5 separate regions of the Homo sapiens genome follow, and all the other regions are linked to region 5. Evidence: promoter capture Hi-C in 16 types of primary human blood cells and fetal thymus (Javierre and others, 2016). All regions are on one chromosome and are shown on one strand. The core of a region is centred on a gene start or on the middle of the fragment in contact, and the rest is flanking DNA. Distances in the headings are between cores, read along the strand shown.

What was found. Contacts are between HindIII fragments. The CHiCAGO score rates a contact against its expected background, and 5 or more counts as called.
Region 1: a contact is called between a fragment that was not itself captured here and the fragment with the promoter of CCKAR in region 5, in 1 of 17 cell types (total CD8 T cells). The highest score is 5.4, in total CD8 T cells.
Region 2: a fragment that was not itself captured here is called in contact with the fragment with the promoter of CCKAR in region 5 in 7 of 17 cell types (total B cells, naive CD4 T cells, naive B cells and 4 more); the score reaches 7.7 in total B cells.
Region 3: a contact is called between a fragment that was not itself captured here and the fragment with the promoter of CCKAR in region 5, in 1 of 17 cell types (neutrophils). The highest score is 6.6, in neutrophils.
Region 4: a contact is called between a fragment that was not itself captured here and the fragment with the promoter of CCKAR in region 5, in 6 of 17 cell types (naive CD4 T cells, total B cells, total CD8 T cells and 3 more). The highest score is 6.5, in naive CD4 T cells.

What each region holds. Positions count from the first base shown.
Region 1 is chr4:27,064,154-27,069,869 of GRCh38, reverse strand. No RefSeq gene overlaps it. Among named protein-coding and RNA genes, the nearest start is that of LINC02261, 150 kb to the left of the region's middle. The HindIII fragment of the contact is 783 bases long and covers 1,390-2,172 here.
Region 2 is chr4:27,027,449-27,032,626 of GRCh38, reverse strand. No RefSeq gene overlaps it. Among named protein-coding and RNA genes, the nearest start is that of STIM2, 170 kb to the right of the region's middle. The HindIII fragment of the contact is 5,613 bases long and covers 1-4,568 here.
Region 3 is chr4:25,965,352-25,970,875 of GRCh38, reverse strand. No RefSeq gene overlaps it. Among named protein-coding and RNA genes, the nearest start is that of SMIM20, 54 kb to the right of the region's middle. The HindIII fragment of the contact is 8,839 bases long and covers 1-5,524 here.
Region 4 is chr4:27,000,471-27,005,826 of GRCh38, reverse strand. STIM2 (stromal interaction molecule 2) reads right to left here. Exons shown (of 12, transcript NM_020860.4): 6 at 3,433-3,610; 7 at 2,723-2,900. Among named protein-coding and RNA genes, the nearest start is that of STIM2, 140 kb to the right of the region's middle. RefSeq lists a silencer at 4,831-4,890. The HindIII fragment of the contact is 1,969 bases long and covers 1,169-3,137 here.
Region 5 is chr4:26,488,683-26,494,354 of GRCh38, reverse strand. CCKAR (cholecystokinin A receptor) reads left to right here and starts at 3,871. Exons shown (of 5, transcript NM_000730.3): 1 at 3,871-4,199; 2 at 4,871-5,122. The coding sequence starts at 4,088. The HindIII fragment of the contact is 9,380 bases long and covers 1-5,672 here.

The DNA of each region.
Region 1 (5,716 bases), core at 532-3,031, 580 kb before region 5:
CCAGTTTCCCACCGCTCTGTAATGCTCACCACGCGTGCATGGAATTGTGTCTGGCCTCTCCCTCCTGTGCCAGTGACCTAGTTACCTGCGCCAACACTCTTCATCTGTACTCCAGCTTCACCTCGGTCTTGCTATCTGGTAGAAAAACTCCCCACCCCACGCCTTGTCCTTCCCCTTCACAGTTGTCTTGTCCAGGCATGGCCTTTGGCACAGACTAGAATGTGGAGGCACCCCTGTTCCCATTCAGCCTCTTCCAGCAAGTCTCCACCACTCTGGCTTCTTTACTGTTTAACCCATTAAGAGCATCCCTCACCTTTTCATTTGCACAGTAAGCAAAGAGTAGGTCATTTTGTACTTCTTCAAGTTGAAAGATTCGTTTCCCATTTGAAGCCCCATCTGAAAACCTACCCCATAAATAAGCAGAATTGCATTCACCAGTACAACGCCAGCGTAGCAGTGAAACATGCCCTGAGCTCACTAGTGAGAATTCAGGAGGGGAGTCTGAATTCTCTCATGCTTAACTGCAGCATCCCCCAACAAAAGCCAAGCAAAGCCACCATATAGGGGGACTTCAGGGAATCTCAGAGTCAGATGAATAGCAGGAAAGAATGGGGATTGGAGGGGAGGAGTTTTATTGTGACTCCATGTTTCCCCTCTGTCATCATGGGCTAGCCCAAGCCCCACCGGCACCCTCAATTCACTCTCTTCCCATTTTTTCTTTAACCTGATTGGGCAAGAAAGAACTTTCGGGTCCACCTCTTCCAGGCCTTCCCAGGATGTCCAAGGTCTCAGGATCTAATTTAATGTACAGATTTTCTAATCCAGTTCCCTGCCATTAATCTCTGTTCAATTCTCCTAAGAAACTCCTCATTTCTGTTTATATATTTCTAACTTCTACTTGACAAGTACTCAAATTATAAGCATCTTCCAAAATGTTTTAGGGGAAGGTATAATCTGGATATATGTTCCATTTCACAGAGAAGGAGCTGAGTGTCAGGGACATGAAGCAACTCGCTCCAAGATTTGTGACATATCCAGGGCTGGAATGTCCAGGCCAAGCTCTTTTCTCTTCTTACACATCCCTCCTCTCTCGTTGGCCTTCTGGCCCAGGGAACAAAAACTCCTGTGCCCAGTCTGGATGACAAGGACCTGCCATGCCCTTCTTTGCTAAGAGCTTTCCAGGAAACCACAGTGAAGTGGAACTTGGCTTCAAAGAACAAGGAACTTGTTGCCCCAGCTGTGCGGGGTGTGTATGTGCATGTCGTGTGTATGCACTTTAATAATTAAGTGTGTGCCTGAAACTCTGCAGCAATGGTGACCCCTCACGCCAATTCCCTTTTAATTCCTATGCCCTTAGCACTCCACCTAAGGCAAGGAGTTTTTTAAGCTTTTCACGCAAGGAGGAAAAATCTTGACACCAACTTAAAAGCTCTATTCACCCAGCAGGAACCATCATTTTGCTATTGGCGCGGAGACCTTGACTGATAAGCAGGGCCAGCTGCCCTGTCCAGAGTTCAGAAGCAAGAATTGTGGAGTGTGTTAGCGCAGGTGACAAGGGTCGCAGGGCAGCCTTGCTCAAAGATCTCAGCGGCCACAGGTAGACTCTCCCAAAGGGCAAGCAGGTTGAGCTGGTTGGAACATGTTCATTCCAGCAAGGGCGGGGTGGTCCCTTCGCGTTTGTGTGTGTGCAAATGGTTATCAGGTTCCCCAGCCCTGAGTTCCCCCTCCCATGTGCATCTCATGTCTAATCCAAAGGGCTTGGGGTGAGGTCCAATAATTTGCATTTCTAGCTTGTTCCCAGGAAAGCAGATGCTACTGGAACATGAGCCACCCTGTGAGGACCACAGCTCCAATTAATTCATGGTAAGCACCTCAAATCTGATGATAGCTCTCCGGCTCCGTGGGAACAGAGAAATAAATAGAACACGGTCCGTTCCTCCAGGAGCCTCAAGAATCAAACACCTCCCCTGTCTGCTTGTGGGGTTGCTTCTTATACTTTCGAGATAAGCCTGTGTTTCCAAATCCCAGCTAATCAAAAGAGCCATCCAGGAAGTGAGTCCATGAGCAATTATAAGGGTGACTGCACCTGTAAACTTCAAGGGGTCTGAATAAGGATAGGCATCATCCTTACAAACTAACACAGGAAGCTGATGGCCTGATGGCCAGGAAGCTTGAAAATACACAGAAGCCCAGGCTTCTTCCAGAAAATACAGAATTAGTACATCTGTGATGGAATCTGGGAATCTATATTTTCAACAAGCTCCCAAGATAATTTTCATGATAGTGAGAATTTAAGACAGACTTGATGACTGGGTGTGGTAATCCCAGCACTTTGGGAAGCCGACGTGGGCAGATTGATTTGAGTTCAGGAGTTCAAGACCAGCCTGGGCAATATGGCAAAACCCCATCTCTACAAAAGAAAATTAGCCGGGCACGGTGGCCCATGCCTGTTGTCCCAGCTACTCGGGAGGCTGAGGGAGGAGAATCTCTTGAGCCTGGGAAGCAGAGGTTGCAGTGAGCCAAGATAGTGCCATTGTACTCCAGCCTGGGTGACAGATCAAGACCCAGTCTCAAAAAAAAAAAAAAAAAAAAAAAAAAAGACAGACTTGAATTAAGTCACAGAGTTTTTAAAAGCCCAGAACTTCTACTACCAGGAATGTCTTAAAGTAACCCTTTAGTACTCTCACTTCTATTATCTATTACCTGGCACGAATTATTTCTAAAATAAGCTGGATCTCTCCCATAAAAAAAAATCCTGAATAAAGAGCCCTGGAATAACAGGGAGAAGACAAAAAAAAATGGGTGAGACCAAGGACAGGTACTCTTAGTAGGCCTGGGTGGAAGGCACTGGTAGATTGCAGATGGCCACAATGCTTCAGAGCCCCTCCCAAAAAGAAGTGAAGTCTACCCACCCCTTGAATCTGAGATGTCCTTGTGACCTGCTTTGAGCAATTGAGTATGACAGAAGGGACACTGGACAAGTTCCAATCCTAGGTCCCAACAGGTCTGACAGCTTCCCTTTTTGCAGGGCTTGAAACCCTGCTATCACCCTGGGAACAAGGCCAGGCTAGCCGCTGGAAGTTGAGTAAGACCTCATGGGGAAACTGCAGTCAAAAACCACCCTGATCCTTCCTAAGCCAGCAAGCCCCAGCCTCTAGCCACAAATGCTTGAACAAGATGGACCAGACACGCTGGAGCACAGTCCAAATTACCCGCAGAGTCAGGAGCTAAATGGATGGCCCTTGTTTTAAGCCACCAAGTTCTGGGGTGGTTGTTACATAGCATAAGTTGACTGATACAGGAAGGACACCAGGGAATGTCAGAGCAATCCTAAAAACCAATTCCATCACTGGACCATTTGCCTTGGGCCAGATCTAAGCATTGTGCCCCTGCTATGTGATAAAGCCACCCTCTGGGTCCCCGACGCCTTGCTTCCCCAAAAGTTCAAAGCTTTTCTCTGAGTAGTAAACTGGAAAACTCATCCTTCTAATAACCCAGCTTTGCTCATTGCCTCATTGCCCTAAACCCAGCCATAAGATTCATGAGAGAAGGGAAACAGCAGCCATTACATCACTTGCTTCAATTTCCATATAAGAAAACAGAGCAGGTCTGTCCTCAGCGTACACACATCTGAGTGTCCTGCAGCATCAAAGATTCTCCATGCAGTGGGGCATTCATGCTGAGCTAACTCTTAGCAAATGGGGTTGCTGCCTAAGCAGGTGGCAAAGTGATACGGTACAGTAAGCAGTGGGCCACGGATCTGGAAACCTGGATTCCAGTCCTGCCTGTCATCTTGGGCTCTCTGGATGGGCACTTACCCTCCCTGAATTCCAGGTCTTCAATGGTTGGATTTGATCACCAACACATTTCTAGGGTACCATAGAACAAGACATGAAGCTCAGGTAAGAGATCTGAGCCCCAGTTCTTGACAGAGCTGGCTTTGTGTATATGCGACTGTCATGCCAGACCCCTGTTGATGCCAGCAGGGATGGCACCGTGTCCAAGAGGCCAAGGAAGAGACCTGGAGCTGGCAAACGAGATATAGGGTATAAACAGTGCAGTCCAGGACCAGCGAGCTGGACAGGAAAACTGCTCTTGTTTGTAAAAAACATACAAGTTATGTGGCATTTTCACTTAGGAACCTCCACCTGGCAACTTCTATTTAACCCAGAACAAAGAGCCTCAATCCCCTGTCCAGCATGTGTTCCAAGGGATGGGCCCTAGGGGTTCAGATGGCCTTATAAATAAGGAGTGAGTTTCTGGGTTGGCCACTCCTGGATTCCTTAGCTGAGAGCTCTGAATACACATTCTTCCGAGACCATAGGGTCATTCTCAGGGTATGATTGAGTTATTGCTGTCAGGTGTATCTGCCATACAGCCACCCAGGCAAGTTGCACAGGGCTCCAGGCTCAGAAGATCCCCATACTTGGTTTAATACTCAATTATTGCTATCTTACAATCTTCATAATTTTATCTTTGAACTTGGTGTTTTTTATTGTGTTTTGGTTTTGGATTTTGGAGTTTTGTTTGTTTGTTTTTTGTTTTTTGTTTTGAGACAGAGTTTCGCTCTTGTTGCCCAGGCTGGAGTGCAATGGTACAGTCTTGGCTCACTGCAACTTCCACCTCCCGGGTTCAAGCGATTCTCCTGCCACAGGCACCTGCCACCATGCCTGGCTAATTTTTGTGTTTTTAGTTGAGACAGGGTTTCACCATGTTGGCCAGGCTGGTCTTGAACTCCTGACCTCAGGGGATCCACCCGCCTCGGCCTCCCAAAGTGCTGGCATTACAGGTGTGAGCCACTGCGCCTGGCCTGAACTTGGGTTTTATAAGTGAAGTCCAAAGAGACAGTAGAGCATGCACAAGAGCCCAGGAAACACATGAAATATGCGTATCTGCCTCTGTTCCTTGGTAGTACGTTTGCATACAATGTTCATGGTTCCCAATGAGCACAGAATTCCAGTGCATCCAAGGTGTGTGGGACTTCAGCAAAACTCAGGTCTATGACTGAATACGGGAGACACTGACAGCCCTGAGAAGTCATGCTTTCTGTTCAAACCACAACTTGCTTCAAGAGCAGAAGGAAAGCAATAGCGTTTTATGGCATCCAAACAACCAAAGAGCTTGCTGTGGGTTCAATTGTGTCCCTTGCTCCCCCAAAAATCATATGTTAAAGCCCTAACCTTGAGCACCTCTCAATGAAACCGTATTTGGAAATAGGGTTTTTGCAGATGGTAATTAGGATCAATTAAATCAGGATGAGGTCATACCGGGATAGGAGGCCCTACTGCAATATGGCTGATGGCCTTAGAAAAAGGGGCAGTGTGGGCACAGCACACAGACGGGGAGAATGCTATGTGAAGATTAGAGTTATGCTGCCACAAACCAACCAACTGCCAGGAGCTAGGAGGGAGACCTGGAAGATCATTCCCTATCCCTTTCAGAGGGAGCAAAATCTTGCAATCACCTTGATCTCCGATTTCCAGCTTCCAGAATTGTTAGACAGTAAATTTCGGTTGTATAAGCCACACAGTTGATACTTTGTTATGGCAGCCCCAGCAAACAGATACAGAACATACTATTTTTTCTTCCTCACATTACCTCCCTGTTAGTCAACCACTAATGCAGAAAATGATGACACAGAAGGAAAGGGAAAGACATGCGACCTATAAATCCTTTTCCTTTCTGTCTGTCCTTCCTTATGCATCAGTAAGCAAAA
Region 2 (5,178 bases), core at 513-3,012, 540 kb before region 5:
AATGAGCAGTCTTACTGAGAGTCAGGATTGGGCGGTGCAGCACCCGATGTGAAGAGATCATATGGATTTGAATATTCACTGATGGAAACAGGAAAGGGATCTTATTGGAAAAACCGGGGAGTACGGGTAAAAAGAGAGTTGGCTGTACTCATCTGTGACGGGAAATCAGGGATGTGTGGGAAAAGTTGGGATGATTGCAGTGATGTGCTGTGGGATTGAGGTAGGTCAACATAGGAAGGAAAGCCAGTGTATGGAAAATGGACACAGAAAACGTGGGTAGGATCCATGAGGCCGGGCGCAGTGGCTCACGCCTGTAATCACGAGGCAGATCACGAGGTCAGGAGATCGAGACCATCCTGGCTAACACGGTGAAACCCCGTCTCTATTAAAAATTACAAAAAATTAGCCAGGCATGGTGGCAGGCGCCTGTAGTCCCAGCTACTTGGGAGGCTGAGGCAGGAGAATGGTGTGAACCTGGGAGGCGGAGCTTGCAGTGAGCCGAGATCCGGCCACTGCACTCCGGCCTGGGCAACAGAGAGAGAATCTGTCTCAAAAAAAAAAAAAAAAAAAAAAAGGTAGGATCCATGACAAGGCTGAAAAGAAGTGGAAGCAAAGGAGTGGCCCCCTGGAAGAGTAGGCAGTTTTGGCCAAAAAGGCACAGGAAGAGGTTGGGTATAATGAGTCCACAGGTAGACAGTTCCAGAAGATGACAAGATTTCCATGTGAGCATCATTGGTGTCTGTCACTCAAGTAATACAAAGGTCTTATCTCAACCTCTGAAAAGACTTTGGGATGGGATGCCGGAACAGGCTGGGAAATACGACTTCATTGAAGAACATCAGTGTGACATGGAGCTCTCACACACTGGTAAGGAGTTAAGAGGTGCTTTTTTCATAGAATCAGCATTTGACCTACCCCCAAGACACTCCATGTGACACAGGGCTGAAGATCACAGGGAGGGGGAGAAGGGTTCAGTGGACTTACTTGCAAAGGACACACTTGAGAGGGACCCAGCACTGTGGTAAGCCTTTCTCAGGCATCATCTCATGTAATACCCACAGCAATAGTGAAGCAGCATTATTAGCATCCCTACTTCATCCATAAGAAAACAGGCTCTGAGAGGTAAGTTATTTGTCCCATGTCATAGGTAAGAAACGCCAGGGGTCTCATGCTGAGAACTATCAGACTCCGAAGTCTATTTTCATAATTACTACAGCACATAATCCCCCCAAAATAAGGAAACAGGATTCAGGAGAGGGAGAGAAGTGGGAAAAGGCACTTAACGATTTATCAAGATGAGCATTCAGACACTTTGTTTTTTCCAAAGGGGGAGGAAAGCCCTAGGTACCACTACAGAGGTTCCCTTCTACACGTAGTAAAACTGTACCCATGTCCACAGGAAGACATAATGTTTTTAAAAATTGAGAATCCATTAAACAAACATACACCAGGAATACAAAGGAAACCCAAAGCCTTTGTACCTGTTGCTCCTGACTGTTCCATCTCTGCCTGGGATGTTCTTTTCTAGCTATTTCCATGACTGTCACTCACTTCCTTCATCTCATTACTCAGATGCCACCATCTACTTAACACAGGTCTTCTCTGACCACCCAAGTTAAAACTGAGACCCACCATCTCCACCATCACTACCTGGGCACTCCCTATTACCTTCGTCTAACATATTGCATATTTTGTTTGATTACTGTCTGCACCACTAGCATGTAAGCCCCAAGGGTGAGGGGCTTTTTTCTGTTTTGTTTACTGCTATACTCCTGGCATCTAGAAAGATTTCTGGCCCATGATAGAAACGCAAATATTTTAAAATTTATCTCAAGGCCAAGCAAGTGTCCATTGACACCCCTGCATTCACACACATGCACACGCACGTGCATACATGCACACGCACACACACTTGTCCTGAAGAGCAGAGTTCCCAGGTAAAGCTAAACATGAGAACTCGGCTTGTGCCTGTGGCATACATTTCTAACTCTACTCAAAACCCACTCCCTCCTTCTTTCTTATCAGTAGAACCCCAATTGTGTTTGAGGGCAGAAGCATACAATCAGTCAAGCAATGAATCAGTGCTAACCTGCTATATTTATCAGCTTCTGTAGCTGACGATGACTACATGGCATCTCAGTTCTGGCCAACAAGCTGAAAAGTGAGGCTGTCGGGTGAGGCTTCGCAAAAAGCTCTTTACAAGGGAGTAGCATCACTGGCACACACCATCCTGCCTTTGCCCTTCTTCTTCCTGCCATATGAATGTGATGTCAGCGGTTACCTTGGGCCATCAGGCAATTCAGGATGGGTAAGTCTGCTTAGTTTTCTGTGACTTGCAGCTGAATGCGATACTGTCAAAAACCCTGAGGTCAAAGTTGTGCTTTCCACTCTTCTCTCTTTAGCAAAAAAGCCACTTCTTCAGCAAAGCCTGTCCCTGCCTTCAAGTTAAGTTAGGCCCCCTTTAAGTAGTCTCACAGCCCTGTGAACCCTTTTTTCATAGCACTAATAACAAGCATGGTAATTTAATTACTTGTGAATTTGTTCAACAAAGTAGGAAAGGGCTGTGCTTCTTGTATTGTTTGCCCTGCACACAGCACATTGTATTCTCTCACTATTCAATAATTATTAAAATAAGATTGAATAATGTAAGAAATCACATTAATTATCAGATATGTAGTATAGCCATTAAATGCTGAGTGCAGGAGAGGTGGTAGAGACCAAGAGTGGATAGGCTAAATCTCTTTACTAAGCAAAAACCTGAAAGAATGTGTTCCTCCTATTGAGTCTATTCAGATATCACTCATCCTTCAGTGTTCAGCTCTAAAAATATATTTCTCCAAGAAAACATACTGGACATACTGGTCACTTTATGCCACTTTGATCTCCTCTTTTCTTGGAATCCTCCTGTAAGACAATGAAAATAGAGTATATACAAGTGAAAATAACACTCACTTGTATTGGATAATACTCTTGAACTGTTTTCTGGTCATTCCATTTGCAATGGCCTTTACCAACCTGGAGGTGGAAGGCAGCAATACTGTCTGTTGTTCATTTATTCACTCATCAGGCATGCAATGTATTCAGTGCCTAAAGTGCCAGTTCTTGGGAGTTCGAAGCTACACAAAGCAAAGTCTCTGCTCTTATGTAATTCAGTCTGTTGGGCAAACAAGTAAACAGGTCATTGCAATACGATGTGTCAAGTGCCGCAATAAATACAGAAAATTCTGCATATCTAATGGCTTCAGCACAGGAATTCAAGACTAGCCTGGACAGCATGGAGAAACATCTCTACAAAAAAGAAATACAAAAGAAGCCGGGGGACTGGGTGCGGTGGCTCACGCCTGTAATCCCAGCACTTTGGGAGGCCGAGGTGGGCGGATCGCCTGAGTTCAGGAGTTCGAGACCACCTTGGGCAACAGGGTGAACCCCGTCTCTACTAAAATACAAAAAAAAAAAAATAAATAAAAATAGCTGGGCATGGTGGTGCGTGCCTGTCGTCCCAGCTACTTGGGAGGCTGAGGCACGAGAATCGCTTGAGCCTTGGAGGCGGAGGTTGCAGTGAGCCAAGATCGCGCCACTGCACTCCAGCTTGGGGGAAAGAGAATCTGTCTCAGAAAAAAAAAAAAAAAAAAAAAAAAACCAATAATAATAATAAAAGAAGCCTGGTGTGATGGTGCACACCTGAAGTCCCAGCTACTCGGAGACCAAGGTGTGAGGATCTCCTGAGCACCCAGGGAAGTTGAGGGGACAGTGTTTCATGATTGCACCATTGCACTCCAGCCTAGGCAAGAGTAAGACCCTGTCTCAAAAAAAAAAAAAAAAAAAAAAAAAAAAGAGGGGGGGCGTGGAAAGAAAAATTCTGCACATCACAGAAATGGTATCTCACCCAGGTTGGGGGCATGCATGGAAGGCTTCCTAGAGATATCAGAGTTAAAGGTTTAGCGTTAGTTGCCTAAGATGGAAGGGGACGTTCCAGGCAAAAGCAGCAGCTTGCCTTACTTCAGAAATTGCATGAAGTTCTGTGTGACTGATTAGGTTATGTCCACAAAAGCCATGAGGCCAGAGGAGTAAGCAGGGTACAGAACATCAAGGGCCTTTGCTAGTCTTGGTTAAGTTTATATTTTATCCCACAGGCAACAAAAGGCATAGAAAAATTGTATCCAGAGAAAATCCACTGTGCAACTTAGAGAGCTCACCAATGAAAGGATGAAGCGGGTGGTGAGGCTGGGTTCAGTTTGCTTTTTGAAGTGAATAATATGAGAAATGGAGAAACAAAGCCCCAGGGCAGTAGAGAAGCGGGGAATTCACTGAGATATTCGGGGAACGAAATGGACAAGATTTGGTGAGTTGACAACAAATGTACCCTTCCCCTCCTCTCTCCTTCCCAAGGTCTCATGCCCAGGCCTATTTACAGGTTCATTTTCTTACCTTTAAGTCAAAGGCAACCTCTAGTAGAGCAGTTCACTGTTGCACCCAGGCTCCGTTTTACACCCCACACACCCAACACCCCTTTTTAATTTGTCATTGTACTTTTTGCTACAGATACACATCTTAAGTAACAGAAAGCTTTTTTTGTGGAGAACAATCAAGCAAAAAAGCCACATTTCTTATTCTGTAAACGTTTTCCAGTACCTCAGAGCTGGTGACCTTAAATTTCCCTAAAATCTGATGCCACCACACCCTAAGAAGCCAGAGGTCTGTAGAAATAATTCAGCAGTTGATGTTTTCACACATGGGAAAATTAGCTTATGTAGATATTTTAGAGCTAAGATGCCTCCATTAAAGAGGTGGTGCTTTAAGGAGTACACAGAGGATGTTTTTAAGAATGAGAACTGCAACACTGGATGGCTGCTAGCAATAAAAGCCATATCAAACTGAGCAAATCTGAAGCAAGAGATGAACTATTTTGACCCACATAAGATTTCTTAGAGTTCTACTTTTATAGGGAACTAGAACCTGGCAGGGCAAAACAGCACCATGTGGGAAGCGGATGCTTGGCTGTTGCTTCAAGGTCTGGTGATTGAGAATGGCTGAGCCACTGTGACTTCCTGGGGCAGAGCAGCTCTCACCAGCAGAAGGTGAATCGCCCTCCTTCCCTTTAGCTGGCTGCTCTCCCTTACTTTTGGAGGTTAATGAAGATACTGCAACATATCTAGTAAAAATTGTATTGCTTCACTG
Region 3 (5,524 bases), core at 1,117-3,616, 520 kb after region 5:
GGACTTGATCCAGAGGAGGCTGGTGGGGCAGTTACCTTCCCCAAGGTCAAGCCTTGGGCTAGGGCTATTAAGTTGGCAGGCTCATCCTGGGGCTCAGGAATGCCATGGAGACTTCACCCTGCAGGGCTGATGGGTGGAGAAGGAAAACCCCAGCTCCTGACAGGCATTGGGGTGGTGGCAAGAAGAGACCGGGCTTGGTTAAAGGCACACAACTTGAGTCTTGGCGTTGCCACCGACTCCCTGGCTGAGTGTGGATGGGCCACTTCCCCTCTCTCAGCCTGGTTTTTGAGGGGCTGGAGGAGCTGGAGCAGCTTCCTAAGGGAGCTTCCAGCTCCGGTTTTTGATGATTTGAGTTTCCGGTGTCCTGAGCTGCAGATGGCATGTGGGGAATGAGGAAGCTGTAGAGAGCTGACTGGTGATTTCCCCGGAGAGTCTACGGCTGTTGGGGAAGCTCCCACTACCACAGACAGCCCGGGCCCCACTTGGCAGCCCTGGGCCTCGGATCAACTGAAATGTGTAGGGGGAAGCGAGATGAGCTCATTAGATCCACCTGTGCAAATCAGCGCCTTTCACAGCTGAGTGTCCTGGGGAGGGGAGGGTTGAGAAGGCAGCTCAGCCAGGCAGGAAGCCCCGCATCGGAAGACGAGGCTGACACCAAAATGAGGATGGTAGAAGCATATTTAATGACACGGAAAAATGTTCAGTGGTAGGTTAAAAAAAATGCAGGTTATAAAAAGCAGCATATGTAGGACAATCCTCTTTATGGGGAAGAAATATTTCCCTCTAAAGTAGACACACACACGCACACGCACACACACACACACACACACAAGAAAAGGCCCTAAAATTCAAGGAGTGATTATCTCGGGGTGCTGGGATTTCCTGTGGCTTTTATTTTCTTCCTTTGTGCTTTTCTGTATTTTCCAAGGTTTTGTAATGATTCAAAAAAGACTTTTTTCACAGAATGCTTGGCGTATTAACCTGCCAAATACACTGGCCTCACGGACACTTCCTTTTCCCGGGGAAGGTCCTGCCCACAGCTCTACTGAGGGTCCAGTCCTTAGGCGGCCAAGTCTTAATTTATGCACAACCATAGCAGCTTCGAAATTTCAGTATTGGAGAGACTTAAGAAGACAATCTGATTGCAAAGGAGAAATTGAAGTTATATTTAAAATAAAGTTAAGACAATGTCAATTGTCCATATGAAGGAATAGGAGACAGGCTACAGCTTCCCCACTCTTCTCCTTGGGGTCGGCCATTAAACCTTCCGCTATGCTCCTGCCCCATCTCCCTTCTGATTGGACAGGGGGTGATCAGCTGACCCGAGTGCAGCCAATCCACCCAGGAGCCTGTGCCTTATGCAAAAAAAGATGGCCGGGTCATTAAATTCATCCCTGGCGGATTTGAACTGAGAAATTAGGCAAGTGCCAGACAGTTAGCAGTGGGAATAGTAAATGAAGGGCTGTAGGGAGAGACAGCAGGAGCAGAGAGCCATGAGGAGATACAGATGGTGTGCATCATGGAACAGTAGAAATAATTACTAAAATGACTAAATAAAAAGCATGAAAAAGGCAGAGATATGAGATTTTTTTCCTCCAGACGGAATCTTGCTCTGTTGCCCAGAGCTAAGAAATTCTACAACAGCTTCCCAGGCATGGGTTAAGAAGACCTAGAAAACTCCTATGCCTGTTTAACATCAACTCCACCATTATGGCTTCATTGGACAACCATTATTGAGTTTACACTATGCTAGACACTATACCCAAGAGATATCTCAGTGGAGTGCAGGGGCGGATCTCAGCTCACTGCAAGCTCTGCCTCCCCGGTTCAAGCAATTCTCTTGCCTCAGCCTCTCGAGTAGCTGGGATTACAGGCACATGCCACCATGCCCGGCTAATTTTTGTATTTTTAGTAGAAACGGGGTTTCACCGTATTGGCCAGGCTGATACTCCTGACCTCAGGTGATCCACCCGCCTGGGCCTCCCAAAGTGCTGGGATTACAGGCATGAGCCACCACGCCCGGCTGAGATTTTTTAAAAGGATATAGAGATTAGAGGAAAGGATAAGTCAAATGGTAACAAGAAGAGCACAGAACAAAAGTGAAAGAGACCAGGGTGGCCCCGTTTCTTCATTTGAGTTCCCTCAGGAGCAGACTCTGAGACAACAATTTCCGTGCAAGTGGTTTATTTGGGAAGTGGTCTCAGGAAACTGCAGAAGAGGACTTGGGGAAGTGATACCAGGAAGGGAAGGCAGCCAGTAAGTGGTGCATTACTGAGCCAGCCACAGAAGGCAGTGACTGGAGCTTAACCCAGGGGGAAACTGTGTCATATGCATACCTCAGAACTCTCCCCAGCCAGGAGGTGAGGGAGTTAGGATATTTATATAGCAACTCCTGAGAGTCTGGTTGAGGACTGCTCCCATAGCACTTGATTCCCTGGAATTCAAACCCTGTGCTTGTGGAAAGAGCTGCCTTCCACGGCTCCAGGAAAAAATTCCCTAGACACAGAGATGCAGATATACTGGCAGCTGCAATGATCAGAAGCACACGGAAAGCTCTGAGGAATACAGATGAGGCTCTGGAAATGTCTGCCTCATCAAGAGAGAGGACCCATACACAGATAGATGGATCCTACAGTCCATTTGAGATGGTGAGAGAGTGCTAGCCCCTGAGCACTTTCTTTTTTACAGCTTCTTGGTTCTTCAGCTTCATACAGTATGTCCCCAAGACTTGAGCCAAGTGGAGGGACCCCAACTAAGATGAAGAACCTGGGAAGAGGCACCCCTCTTCCCTAGGACTCCACACCCTCCCCAGCCTCCCACAGGGAAAGAACTGTTCTATATTATCTAGGGTCACAAGCCATAAAAGATTGTCACCTTGGATTGATTCTTTTTTTTTTAAATAGAGTTGAGGTCTTGCTCTGTTGCCCAGGCTGGTCTTGAACTCCTGGACTCAAGCAGTCTTCCTGCCTCGGCCTCCCAAAGTGCTGGGATTATAGGCATTGACGGATTCTTAATACAGATTTTAGATTCTCATATAGACCCCTAACATTCCCTCCCCTAATACCCAATGACCATGCTAAGAAATTCTACAACAGCTTCCCAGGCATGGGTTAAGAAGACCCAGAAAACTCCTATGTCTGTTTATCATCAACTCCACCATTATGGCTTCATTGGACAAACATCATTGAGTTTACACTATGCTAGACACTATACCTAAGAGACATCTCAGTCTGGAAGGAAGCGGACACATACATTAAGAATTTCCTCAGAATGCGGCAAATGTTAAAATGGAGCTGTGTTGACATGGTGGGGAGCATTAAGGCAGAACACATGAATTCAGCTTATGGGAATTCAAGAAGGCTTCACGGAAGGAGTGGCTTTTGGATCAGGTCTTGAGGGATGAGTAAATGTTTAGCAAGAGGGAAGGCTGGGGGATATAGGAAGTGAGACCCAGTCAGGCAGGAGGTATAGCCAAGCAAAAGCTCTGGGCTAGGAAAGAGTCTGGTGGCTTGGAGCACGGACAGAGACAGCAAAGGCTAAAAGAGAGGTGAGACTAGGGAGGCCCCCGCACTGGTGGTGAAGGGCTTTACATATTGAGCTGAGTGTTAACTGTATTCAGTGATTACTGAGGACCCACAGAAGGTTGTCCATGGGAACTATAAAGAGCAAAATCCCTGGAAAGGTAATCATCAGTTCTTAGAGATACTTTCCCACCAGAGCACTGAGCAAACATCATATCAAAAGTTTCTTTTCTTATATTTGCTAAGCACCTGCTATGTACATAGCACTGACTAGGCACTATGGGAATGCAAAGAGTTCTCATGCACCAATACCCAGCTAATGCCACTTAAGAATAACTGGAGAAAGGCCGGGCGTGGTGGCTAATGCCTGTAATCCCAGCACTTTGAGAGGGTGAGGTGGGCGGATCATGAGGTTAGGAGTTCGAGACCAGCCTGACCAATATGGTGAAACCCCGTCTCTACTAAAAATACAAAAATTAGCCAAGCGTGGTGGCGCGTGCCTGTAATCCCAGCTACTCAGGAGGCTGAGGCAGGAGAATCACTTGAACCTGGGAGGCAGAGGTTGCAGTGAGCTGAGATTGCACCACTGCACTCCAGCCTGGGTGACAGAGGGAGACTCTGTCTCAAAAAAAAAAAAAAAAAGAATAACTGGAGAGACAAACCCAATAGGCCTAAGATTAAAGAGTTACTGTGGTGAGGGGCAAATATATATAATTTATCTTAAGAGCTATAGGAGGAGTTTTTAGGGAGAGAACTACTCTTTGTTCAGCAGAACATTGTATAAACCATTTGTTGAATAGTGAGTTGAATAGCGTGTCCCTCAAATATACATCTTCTTGGAACGTCAGAATGTGACCTTATTTGGAAATAAAGTCTTTGCAGATGTAATCAAGTGAAGATGAGATCATACTGGATTAGGATGGGCTCTAAATCTAACAAGACTCGCATCCTAATAAGGATTAAGAGGAAGATTTGGAGACACACAGACACACCTACAGGAATAAGGCCTTGTGACCACAGAAGCAGCAATTGGAGTGATGCAATTGTAAGCCAAGGAATGACAAGGATTGCCAGCAGTCACCAGAAGGTAGGAAGAGGCAAGGAAGGATGTTTCCTTAGATTCTTCCAAGGGAGCATGGCCCTGCTGACATCTTGATTCCAGCCTTTTAGCTTCCAGGACTGAGAGAATACATTTTTGTCATTTTAAGCCACCCAGTTTGTGGTAATTTTGTTGTAGGACTCTTTCCTTAGTTCAGCTAAAGATGGGGGTCCTTGTCACACGGTCACAAAAAATTTGGCTCACAGACAATTTGAAGGGTGAGGAGGGCAGAGTTTATTGGGTGAAAAGCACCAAAAAAAAAAAAGAAAAAAAAGAAAAAAAAGAAAGGGAAACAGGCACCCTCCACAAAGCCAGAGCAAGAATCCTGCTAGTATATGCTTTCCACCTCGCAACTTGAATCCCAGGTACCACCCAGGAAGAGAAGGGGGCAGGCTCCTCCCCGCGAACTTCTGTGGCTCCACCCCAGTGCACACTCCTTCCAGTGCGCATGCTGGTTGGAGTTTTTCTGGGGACTCTTTCCCATCTGGCTGTCTCAATTTGTCACAGCAAACTAATACACCATCTGAGTGAAAAGAAAGGACCCTGGACAAAATCTGAAAGAAGCTGAACAAAGGGAGGTCTGAACTTTTCTGTATGAGAAAATGAAGAGAAGCAGAGGAAGTAGAGGGGTGAGAGAATTGTAAGGAGTTAAGGGGAAAAAGAGGTCAACACCACAGCAGGAAGCCAGCATCTTAGGAGAAAACACAGCTAAGCTGGAATCCGCACCAACACAATTTGCTGAGGGGCTTTAAGAAAAGCAATGTTTAACTTGTTTGCTGAATTTTACGATGGCTGAGTAAATGACATTTGCACTTCCTTCTTTTCTCAAAAATCACCCTCAAACAACAAGATGAAAACCATCAAACAAATACATCTTTGATGCAGCATGGAGACCCTCTGTGAC
Region 4 (5,356 bases), core at 904-3,403, 510 kb before region 5:
AAAGAGCTCAAAGGAAACACATTTAACATAAAAACTACTTACATATTTTTAGCATAAATTGAAGCTGAACAATGTTCAGATTGATTGCCAAATAATGACTCAAACCTGTGGAAAGTCTGACCTTCCAATAGTGGCAACTATTTAACTGTTTTCTCTGCTATTACTCATGAATGTTTCATTTGATCTAAATCCCAACCCTTAGTTTAAATCACATTGTTGTTTACAGGGGAATGAACACAGAAAAAATTGAGTAATAAACAGCTTTTGCAAACAATAAATAACTGTTTAAAATGTAATAATTATTTACATGATTTTTGTATCTTTGGAATAAAACAACAGTAAGTAAAAACATGATGTCACAAAAACAGCCTAAACATCTGAAAACTTCTTTTCTAGACCCAACTGTATTATTTTTCATCTCTGTAACCTTCAGTAAGTTCCTAAGGCTTATTGTCTCACGTATAATAGGGGTATTATCACTTGCCCTGATTAAAGGCTTCCTGAGACTTTTTCTAAGAAATTAATTTGTGAAAACTACTTAAATCACACAAAACATAAAGCAGTACTATTAGTCACCCAAAGTCTCTGTTCTAGGAAAAATAACACTATATAAAAAACATACCAGATTTTCCTGACTTCTAAATTTATGTTGATTATTCTCCAGACAAAATACAGTAATTCCTTGAACTACGTGGAATTGTGGGTTATGTCATATTATACATCATTTCTCAGTTAAACTTATTTCTACAAGCAAAGCTTTTAATAGCAGTATAAGAAGACACAGACTTTGGAATATGACACGCAAAACCTTGCCTTTACCAGTTAATAGCTGTGTAACCCAAGGCAAGTAAGTTATCTAGCCTCTCTACACAGCTCATTTGTAAATGAAGATAATACCTATGTGTTGTGAGGATTAAAATTTATGAGCAAACCACTGGCAATGTGTGTAGCATACACTTCTGGCACACAGTAAGCCCTCAGAAAATTGTGTTTCTTATTAATACGATCATGCCAGACAGTGTTCTTTTTAAAATACCAATTTCCTTCCTTTAAACCGCCTTTTATTGACCAAGGATCTAATGAGATTATTCATACCAATAATACCAATACATCACATTTTGGTAACTTCGGGGTCTACTGAGGTGTGCATGGTCTCTCTCCCAAAGCTTCAAGTTAGAATGTCCACAATTCTTGGGCCCTTTTTTTATATTGTCTCTTCTCCCTCACTGTGAGGCAGGCACCTGTGAAGTACTACCATCAGTTTATATCTCTGTAGAAGAATTCCAAACTACTGTTTTCTGATTCGCTCTTTTTTATATACAAAGTTTAGAAAGACAGAAATATACCAGAACAAACCGAGAGTTGGATGTCTTGGTGGAAAAAGGCAGGGAGTTCTTACAGGAGTGCAAAGGGCATAGTACCCACTTCTCGGATACCGTATGATTTCGACTAGGCCTTTTTTGTCAACTCCCTGATTCTTTGCTACATTCTGTGCTGATATGGTTTGTTAGTTGAATGAGGCATGACTGTAAAATACATCTAAGAGTCCTTAGAGGGAAGAGCTCCAAAAAACAGACATCTGGGGGTGTGAGAGAAGGAGTGGTTAACAGTTATAAAAAAGATGGCTGTGTTCAGTCAGACATATTCTCATAAAATGACAATCTTGAAGGAAACAGTAATGTATTCTCATGAGTTGACCTTATGTCATTCATCACTTAATTTGCATTTCTTATTTAGCACTCTATTAAGAAGGCAGCAACAGCGCATAAAACAAAGTGGAGGCAGAACACCTAAGTTCTTGCCCCTGCTTTATAACTGAGTCACCTCTAATTTTGAGCAAGTTTTATAATCCTCATTTTGTTCTTCAGTTTCATTATCAGTAAAGAAAGCATCAAAGTCAGAAGGAGGAGATGAGACCACAGAAGTAGAGGCTGGAATGATGGGCTTTCAAGACAGACGAAGGGGCATGAGCTGAGAAATGTGGGTGGCCTTTACCAGTGGAGAAGGCAAGGAAACACGTCCTCCCCTACAGCCTGCAGAGGGAACACAGTCCTGCAGGCTCGCCTCAACTCACTCTGACCTCCAGAACTTTACGATGATAAATTTCTGTTTATTTAAACCACTAAGTTTGTGGCTTTTTTTTTTCTTTTTACAGCAGGAACAGGAAACTAATGCATCTGTCTATAATTAAATTCTGCCAGCACCTCACCTTCTCCAAAGGACTCCGTGCAATGCCTAAATGCCTATATTCTATCTTAAGTAACTGAACAGGAGAAGCAGGTATTGGAAAGGAGCTTCAGAACTTTTAGCAGATTATGTTCTAAAACTATTTAACAGGATTCAAATGGATGTTTAATAGAGATCCTTTACCTTTGCAGAGAAGTTCAAAATTAGATATACTTTATATCTTACTACATTATAGTCAGAAACTTAAACATATTACAGATGTTAAACAAACACCTTAAATTTACTCAAGACAGTGAAGATGGCAAGGTAAGATTTCATGAATGAGTGAACATGATGGTAACTATCTTTCAGTTACTACTGTGTTATTTTGCTATATGAACTTTGATCAATGCTAACAACATAAACAAATGAGTCTTTTATCAACTGAGGAACTACAGTGGAACTAAATGTAGGAAACTGAAGAAAAACAGGACCTGGCTCCTCAGAGTGGCAATGTTAACATCTTTACAAGTGATTTTTTTTTTAATGTAAATACCTGTTCCAATTCCTGTTCTGCATACTGACGTCTACTCAATTCACATTCAGCTCCCTCCCTTAGCTCTCTCAGCCGACAAGCCTCCTCCTTTGCATAATTGATTTCATCCATCATTTTGCGCTCTAAATTTTGCTTTTCTACAGCAACATTTCTGTTTTCTTCCTGTGCCTTTTCAAGCCTTATAGAACAATAAAAATAAAAATTCCTCACAAAAATTTCCAGTTTTATTTTTTTTTACAAAATAATGAATACTGGGTCAAGCGATTAAATACATATTTCAATCAGAAATCATAGCATTTTTCATTAGCCTTAAGTTTGGTTAATACAAATATCAGGCAACTTACTATACAGCTATTTTGGTTATCCTGGGTTCAAATGACAGGGAAAGCAGGGAAATACTCTTCCGCAAAAAGCTTTTCAAAAATTCCTAATTATTTAAATCAAGTTAAAAATAAAATTTAACTACACATCTAATTCCACTATATTTGACTTACCTCCACTGTTCTTCTACTCATTTATTCTCAAGTATACACATTTATAATAAATCTGTAATTATAAAAGTATACTTTTCTAAAAATGTGAAATCAAATATGCATCTATTCCTGATGTGTATAATAACCTAAATGTAAGTATTTAAGCACATGCCCATATCACTTTTTTTACAAATTGTATTTGCCTACATAAATGAGTTATGATTTTTCTGAACTTACCTCTCCTGTAAGTCCATTAGACTTTGCTCTGCAGTTTGTAAGCTCTCTAAATCTTTCATCATTTTTGCAACATGTTCTTTTGATGTCTTATTCTGCGTATAAGCAAACCAGCAGCCTCCAACACCAATTACTATAGAAACTGTGAGGATAAAATCTTTCATCCAGTTATGAGGTGGGCCTATTAAAAGAATTACAGATGATTAAATTAATCTTTGAGTATGACAGGACCTCAATACAAAAAGACATTTTTTAAGTAGTATCTAAAACAAAACCAAAAATTGGAGATCTCTTTCCCATGCACAAGCTCTAGCCTTTTAAAATTCTTTCTTCAAATAATGACTGTGCTTCTTGTAACTCTTTGATATACTAGACTTATAGAAGGGCAGAGGTAAACCCATATAGACACACCACGCCCCTGCTGGTGGGAGAAGGAGTGGTCAAAGTCATGGGGACCCTTGAAAAAGCAACAGCACCTCCAATCATATGCTGCCAGAATGGTCCTCTGTGGGGTGAAGGGAGTCATCAAAAGTATCACCACCATCATCCCAACTCCCTTCCTTCAGTCAAGCTAGGCAGCTGTCACGTTTCTCTCACACTTATAAACCTGATCACTCACCAAAATGTATTTTCCCCAAGGAGGCAGCTATATAACTAATTAGGTTAGGTTAATCAGTGGTTCTCAAGGCTGGTGATAATTCCTCACCCACCCCTAGCAGACATTTGACAATTTTGGGTTGTCTCAACTTGGGGGAGTGGTTACTGGCACCTAGTGGGCAGACATCAGAAGTATTGCTGAACACCCTACAGTGCGCAAGACAACCTCCTCCCTGTGTCCCCTCTGCGGATGACAAAGACTTAACCAGAAACTATCCAGCCCAAAGAGTGACTAGTGCTAAGGCTGATAAAGCCTGGGTTAAATAGTAATAACAATTATTCAGTTTTAGGTGTCTATATGCCAGAGATATGGGGGTTACTGGTATGATGTTAACCCCCAGCCTTATGTCTAAAACAAAGAGTGAGGAGCCAGGGCCTACTGCCTTCAGTGATACAAAACACAGAAATCACTATTCAGATTTCCTGATTTAGCCCAGTCAGTACACACTAATTTTCACGGGGCTCTCTCGAACAGAGACACAATGATAGCTAATATATTATTTTAATGCTCCAAAGAGATACAGCTCACAGTGAAAAACTGCCTAAATGCCCAGGCCTCCGGCAGAAACATATTTTGAAGTTTGGTGACATAAAAGAGTTCTACAGAAGTTCCTAGGCTGACAAGTCTGGGGTTTGGCTATGTTTGTGTAGTGTGATATGTAGCATGCTCTATGTCAGAGACTCTCAGTTCTCCACATTGCCAGAGTGTACACCTTCACCCTTCCACCTGTAGGGGAAGAAATGTACTGCTGAAAGCTACAATCTCAAAAGCATTTTTTATTTCTGCCTCACACTGAGATGTTCAATTCAGGTTCTCCTTCAACTGTGAGCCCTATTCTCTGACCATAAATAACAATAAATAGATAAATAAGGTCCTACACTCAATAATAAGCACCACAGACTGGAAAAGATTAAAAAAAAAAAAACTTTAAAATGTATCTCTGTTCATTTGACAATGCTGGTTTTTAAAATAAATCTAACATAAGTGTTCTGACTATGGGGCACATTCACTCAACCATTCTAAGACAAACATATTTAAAATCATTAACTTTTTAATTGGTTTATTTAAATATTTGTTTACAATCTTTTTTGAGACTAGTTTGATTTCTTTTCAAATGACTTGGTAATATAATTTTTGGGGCTTAGAAAGGGGTTAGTTCCAAGATTAATAAAATATGAGTATTCCTGATCAAGTTGTAAATAGAAACAAATTCTATACTTTAATTCCTATTTTTACCAACCACTCACATGAGAAAAATTGGACAGAATC
Region 5 (5,672 bases), core at 2,622-5,121:
GAGCAAGCTGAGACTCAAAAAGGTTAAGTAATTTCTTTGTTCATGCTTCCCAGCCAGCCAGGGGTGAAGATCAGGCTTCAATTTCTGCCTTCTGATAGCTCCCCTCACCCTCTTAATGGTTCCCAGGGAGTTTCCCCACAAGTGATCCTGAGATCACAGGTCTCCAAATCCCCAGGGATGCTGGATAAAAATGCAGATTTCCAGGCTCGGGGCTGAGGATCAGAATCTCCAGGAGGAAAGTCTGGAAATCACCATTTTTAAACCACTAACCCAGGTAATTCAGCTGTGCAGTAAAGTTTGTACAAAATAGCACTCAAATATGCTGCCATCCCCCCAACCATGAGTTGACAAAATCACTAGCATCCACCACATCTCCCACTCTCACTTCCTGCCAACCAATGAGCAGGAGGAAGAAACAGAATAGGAAAAAGGGAAAGGGAAGGGAAGGGAAGGGAAAGGAGAAACTTGTCCCAAATTGGACTCCATTTTGGTTCAGGGCAGGTCAATGCCCAGCCCTCTGCTCTTCTGGTTCTTGGACTTACAGAACCACTGTCCCCCCAGCTTTTGAAGCAGGTGCTGATGGGCCTGACAAGCCTCAGCAGGAGGCACCCTGAATGGCTGGTGATGTCTGCCCAGCTGGAGCAGTTGAAGCAGCAGCCAAAACCCTGGATGCTCATCCCTTCCCACATCAGAACACAGCTGCTCTGGGTCATCGCCCAGTGAGCAGGGTCCATCATCTGTAGACAGGGAAGATTCAGACAAAAGGACTCATAGCAGGAAGGAGGAAGAGAGACGAGAGCCCTGGCTCCAAACAGGCTACATGATGCTAGAATAGGGAAGGAAAGCTCCATGCCATGGGAAGTGGCGTGAGGATGGGGTCTGCAGGGTCCTCGAGGGGAAATCCACCACTGGTTCTCACCAGCAAAGCATATGGCCACTGTGAGTCCCAGCCTTCTCATTTGTAAAACGAAAATAGCCATTATCGTAGGAAGGCTATGAATACTGCTGCCTGTGATTTATTGAACATTTTTTGTATGTCAGACACTCTATTGAGTCAATCGTTCAATCTTCATAACAAATATCTATTAAATCATTCTGATCCCCATTTGACAGATGGAAATGAGTCTTAGGTTAAGAAACTTGCTCAGGCTGGGCGCAGTGGCTCACACCTGTAATCCCAGCCCTTTGGGAGGCCAAGGCGATTGGATAACTTGAGGTCAGCAACTTGAGACCAGCCGGGCCAATTTGGTGAAACCCGTCTCTACTAAAAATGCAAAAATTAGCTGGTTCTGGTGGTGCATACCTGTAATTCCAGCTACTTGGGAGGCTGAGGCACGACAATTGCTTGCGATTGGGAGGTGGAGTTTGCAGTGACCCTAGCTCATGCCACTGCACTCCAGCCTGGGCAACAGAGCAAGACTTCGTCTCAGAAAAAAAAAAAAAAAGAAAGAAAGAAGAAAGAAGGAAGGAAGGAAGGAAGGATGGATGGAAGGAAGGAAGGAAAAGAAAGAAAGAAAGAAAGAGAGAAAGAAAGAAAGAAAGAGAAAAAGAAAGGAGGGATGGAGGGAAGAAAGGAAAGAAAGAGAGAGAGAAAGAAAGGAGGAAGGGAGGGAAGAAAGGAAAGGAAGGAAGGAAGGAAAAGAAAGAAAGAAAGAAAGAGAGAAAGAAAGAAAGAGAAAAAGAAAGGAGGGAGGGAGGGAAGAAAGGAAAGAAAGAGAGAGAGAAAGAAAGGAGGAAGGGAGGGAAGAAAGGAAAGGAAGGAAGGAAGGAAGGAAGGAAGGAAGGAAGGAAGGAAGGAAGGAAGGAAAAGAAAGAAAGAAAGAGAGAAAGAAAGAAAAAGAAAGGAGGGAGGGAGGGAAGAAAGGAAAGAAAGAGAGAGAGAAAGAAAGGAGGAAGGGAGGGAAGAAAGGAAAGGAAGGAAGGAAGGAAGGGAAAGAAAGAAAGAAAGAAAGAGAGAAAGAAAGAAAGAGAAAAAGAAAGGAGGGAGGGAGGGAAGAAAGGAAAGAAAGAGAGAGAGAAAGAAAGGAGGAAGGGAGGGAAGAAAGGAAAGGAAAGGAAGGAAGGAAGGAAGGAAGGAAGGAAGGAAGGAAGGAAGGAAGGAAGGAAGGAAGGAAACTAATTTGCCCAGTATTTCCTAGCAGGTAACCAGTGAAGCCAGGATTTGATCCCAAGTCTGTCTGATGCCAAAGCCTGTCCTCCCAATAACATCCACAGCTTCTCCAGTGTCCCTTCCCCTTCTTGTTTCTGTGACTAAATGCCCCAAACCATGTGGTCTTCATGGTTTCAAAGAAAAGAGGCACCACTGTCTTTCCAGCCCCACACTGACAGTAAAAATGCGTTAGTTCCTCTGTGTCTGGCAGAGACTCAGCAAGATGTAGCATGCAGCTCTGCCAGTGGAAGCATTGTCAGTACACAAGGAGCCCCACGGGTATCTAGCAAATGGACCAAGTCTCAGCACAGCCAAGCAGGGCGTCAGAAACGCAGGTTTCACAGCCATTGTCGTCTGCTTTCCAAAGGGTCTGAACTGAGGACATAATCTGTGCAATGGAGGTTGAAGGGCTTTCCAGCACCACAGAGCTTCATGGAACACCCAGGACCCTGAGATGGCCCCCCTCTCTGATCTCACGTCCTGCTGTTTGCCTCTCACTCACTCCTACTTCTATCTATTTGTACCTCAATGGGGCCACACTCATTCCCACCTCAGGGCCTTTGCACTTGCTGTTACCTCTGCTAAAAGTGCTCCTCCTTTTGCCTGGGAGAAGCTGTCTTGGGATCTTCACAAGACTTTGTCCTTCTTGTGGTTCAGTCTCAGATCACAGTCCCCTCCTTAAGAGACCTCTCCTGACTACCCCTTCTAAATCAGCAGCCCCAGGCCAGGTGCAGTGGCTCACGCCTGTAATGCCAACACTGGGAGGCCAAGGCAGGAGGATTGCTTGAGCTCAGGAGCTTGAGACCAGCCTGGGCAACATAGCGAGACCTCCTCTCTTCTAAAACTAAAAAAATCAGCTGGGCTTAGTGGTGTGTGCCTGTAGTCCCAGCTACTCAGGAGGCTAAGGTAGGAGGATTGCTTGAGCCAGGGAGCAAGGCTGCAGTGAGCCATGATCGCGCCACTCCACTGCAGCCTGGGGAACAGAGCAAGACCCTGTCCCCGCCCCCCAAAAAATCAGCCCCTAATCTGTTTGTATACATCACATCTCCCTGCTTTACTCCCTTTGTAGTACTTACTACCTGAAATAATTCTGCTCATTATTTGCTGACATGCTAGAAAAGTGCCTGGCAAATGATTGACTCTCAATGAAGATGTGCTGAATGCAAGGCTTCATGAATGAAGAGGAAATCTCACTAACGTCTTTTGTAATAAGGACCCAGGTACCTATGTTCAAAAGTGCCTCAATCCTAGTTAACAAGGGCAGAGACCACGAGAAACAACACTGTGTTTAGTAGCAACTTAACAACCAGCCAGCAGTTCTGTCCACACACACACCACCGGGCATGGTTCCAAAGCTAAAAAGGCACTAATTGCTTTTCTATAAGGAGGTAGAACACAGTCCCTCCGTGTTCTTTAGGCCTGATGGTCTGCATTATCGGATCTGTTACCGTGTTAATTGTTCCTGTCTCACACAGCCGGTTTGGGCTTTCTTCTGCATATGTCTGGGATGGTGACGGGTTCCTATATAGAGGAGTACTGGGGAAGCCTCTGTGTGTGTGTGTGTGTCCGTGCATATGTACACATGTGTGTAAAAAGCAGCCACACGCTGAGAATGGTTAACGGGTAGCCAGGCTGTCTGTACTCAGGGCCCTAAGACTGGCCCAGGAAAGGGCCGGGGGAGGTGGGGCGGGGTGAAGGTGGAGCGGGCTTGGCTTGTGCTCACTGCCTTTTCCACAACAGGAGTACAAATGCTGGAGTGAGTGAGGTGAACTCAAGTCGCCTTTAGGAATGGCTGAAAAAGCCCACACCTGGAAATCACTCCCTCCCTGCTCCTCCACGGCAGGTTGCATCTGCGAGACGCTTCGGTCATTAGAGGAATGAGCCGGGAGTGAGCAATTCACCAGCTCTCCAGCACTTGGTGGAAAGCAGCAGGCAAGGATGGATGTGGTTGACAGCCTTCTTGTGAATGGAAGCAACATCACTCCTCCCTGTGAACTCGGGCTCGAAAATGAGACGCTTTTCTGCTTGGATCAGCCCCGTCCTTCCAAAGGTAAGTGTCGGAAGCTGTTATTTTAATTCAGGAAACTATTGAGTTGTGGGAGAAATCAGCAAAGGCAAGGCTGATAAAAAATATATATAACCAAGTCATTGTGAGACAAGGCTAGATAAAGTCATATGTTCAGAAGTTTGGAGAAGAGATTAAAAAGCAGAATAGAGTCAAATATTCTTATTGTCCCCCATGGGGGAGTTGGGCATTCATGAATAGGACTTGGGGGAACAAAAGCAGGGGAGGAAAAGCTGAGTGAAGCAAGAGGGACTACAAGTGTCAAAGCCTGAACTTACAAGCACAGCAGAAAAGGTGTTGTCACCATGCAGCTGTTTTCTTTTCTTGGGGGGAAACCCAGCATGAAGTGATTAAAGTGAAATAATGCTTAGCAGCCAGGAAAGAAAGTGATCACTGTTCACTTGAGGAGCTTTGTTCTTAAGAAAAAGTGGTTCCCTGAGTGATCCTTTAACAAACCAACCTTCTAAAAAGAAAATAATTCAGTCTCTGCTTTCCTCAATTTGTTTCCGCAAAATGTTGCCAGGACAGGAATCGTGGGTCCAGTGATGTACACCCCGGTGGGGGGAAAATCGGCAGGAATTCACCCTTGGCTTCGGTTTTAGCATTCTGCTGTCATCACCTCCATCCCTCCGTCTTGCTCCTGTTTCTCTCTGCAGAGTGGCAGCCAGCGGTGCAGATTCTCTTGTACTCCTTGATATTCCTGCTCAGCGTGCTGGGAAACACGCTGGTCATCACCGTGCTGATTCGGAACAAGCGGATGCGGACGGTCACCAACATCTTCCTCCTCTCCCTGGCTGTCAGCGACCTCATGCTCTGTCTCTTCTGCATGCCGTTCAACCTCATCCCCAATCTGCTCAAGGATTTCATCTTCGGGAGCGCCGTTTGCAAGACCACCACCTACTTCATGGGTAAGTTGCTGCTGGTGACTCTTTCTGGAGCTTGCCCCAGACCCCACTCAGCCCCAGACCTTCCCAAACCTCTGACAATCACAGCAAAGGAGCCCTGCTGAGGGCTGAATCACAGAACATCAGGCTGTGCATGGCTGTGTGCACGGACATTGGTGCTGGCTTGACAGTCATCCTTATACGTTCCCCACAAGTCGGTCCCCATCATCCATGTTGGAGGTCAGTTTCTAAGAGTGAAATAAATTGATAGGAAAACACAGGGGCAGTTGATTTTGCTTGCTTCTATTTGAAGGGAAGAGGGACTTGCTTGCTTCTGTTTGAAGTCAGAAGTGACTTTAAGCTGCTCTATCCCTTTCTGGAAGCTGTTGACTGTGTCCTGATCTATACACAACTTGAGTCCTGGCTTCTAGGGAGGGTGAGGATGATGGAGGAGGGTTCTTTGCAGTTGTTTCTTTTGTTTTCTTAGGGAACAGGGGCTATTTGAAAACCAGTTCTATCGCAGTTTCAGATTCTCTTCTCAGGATTCACTTCCCAGCCTGTTCTCCCCAAAGCT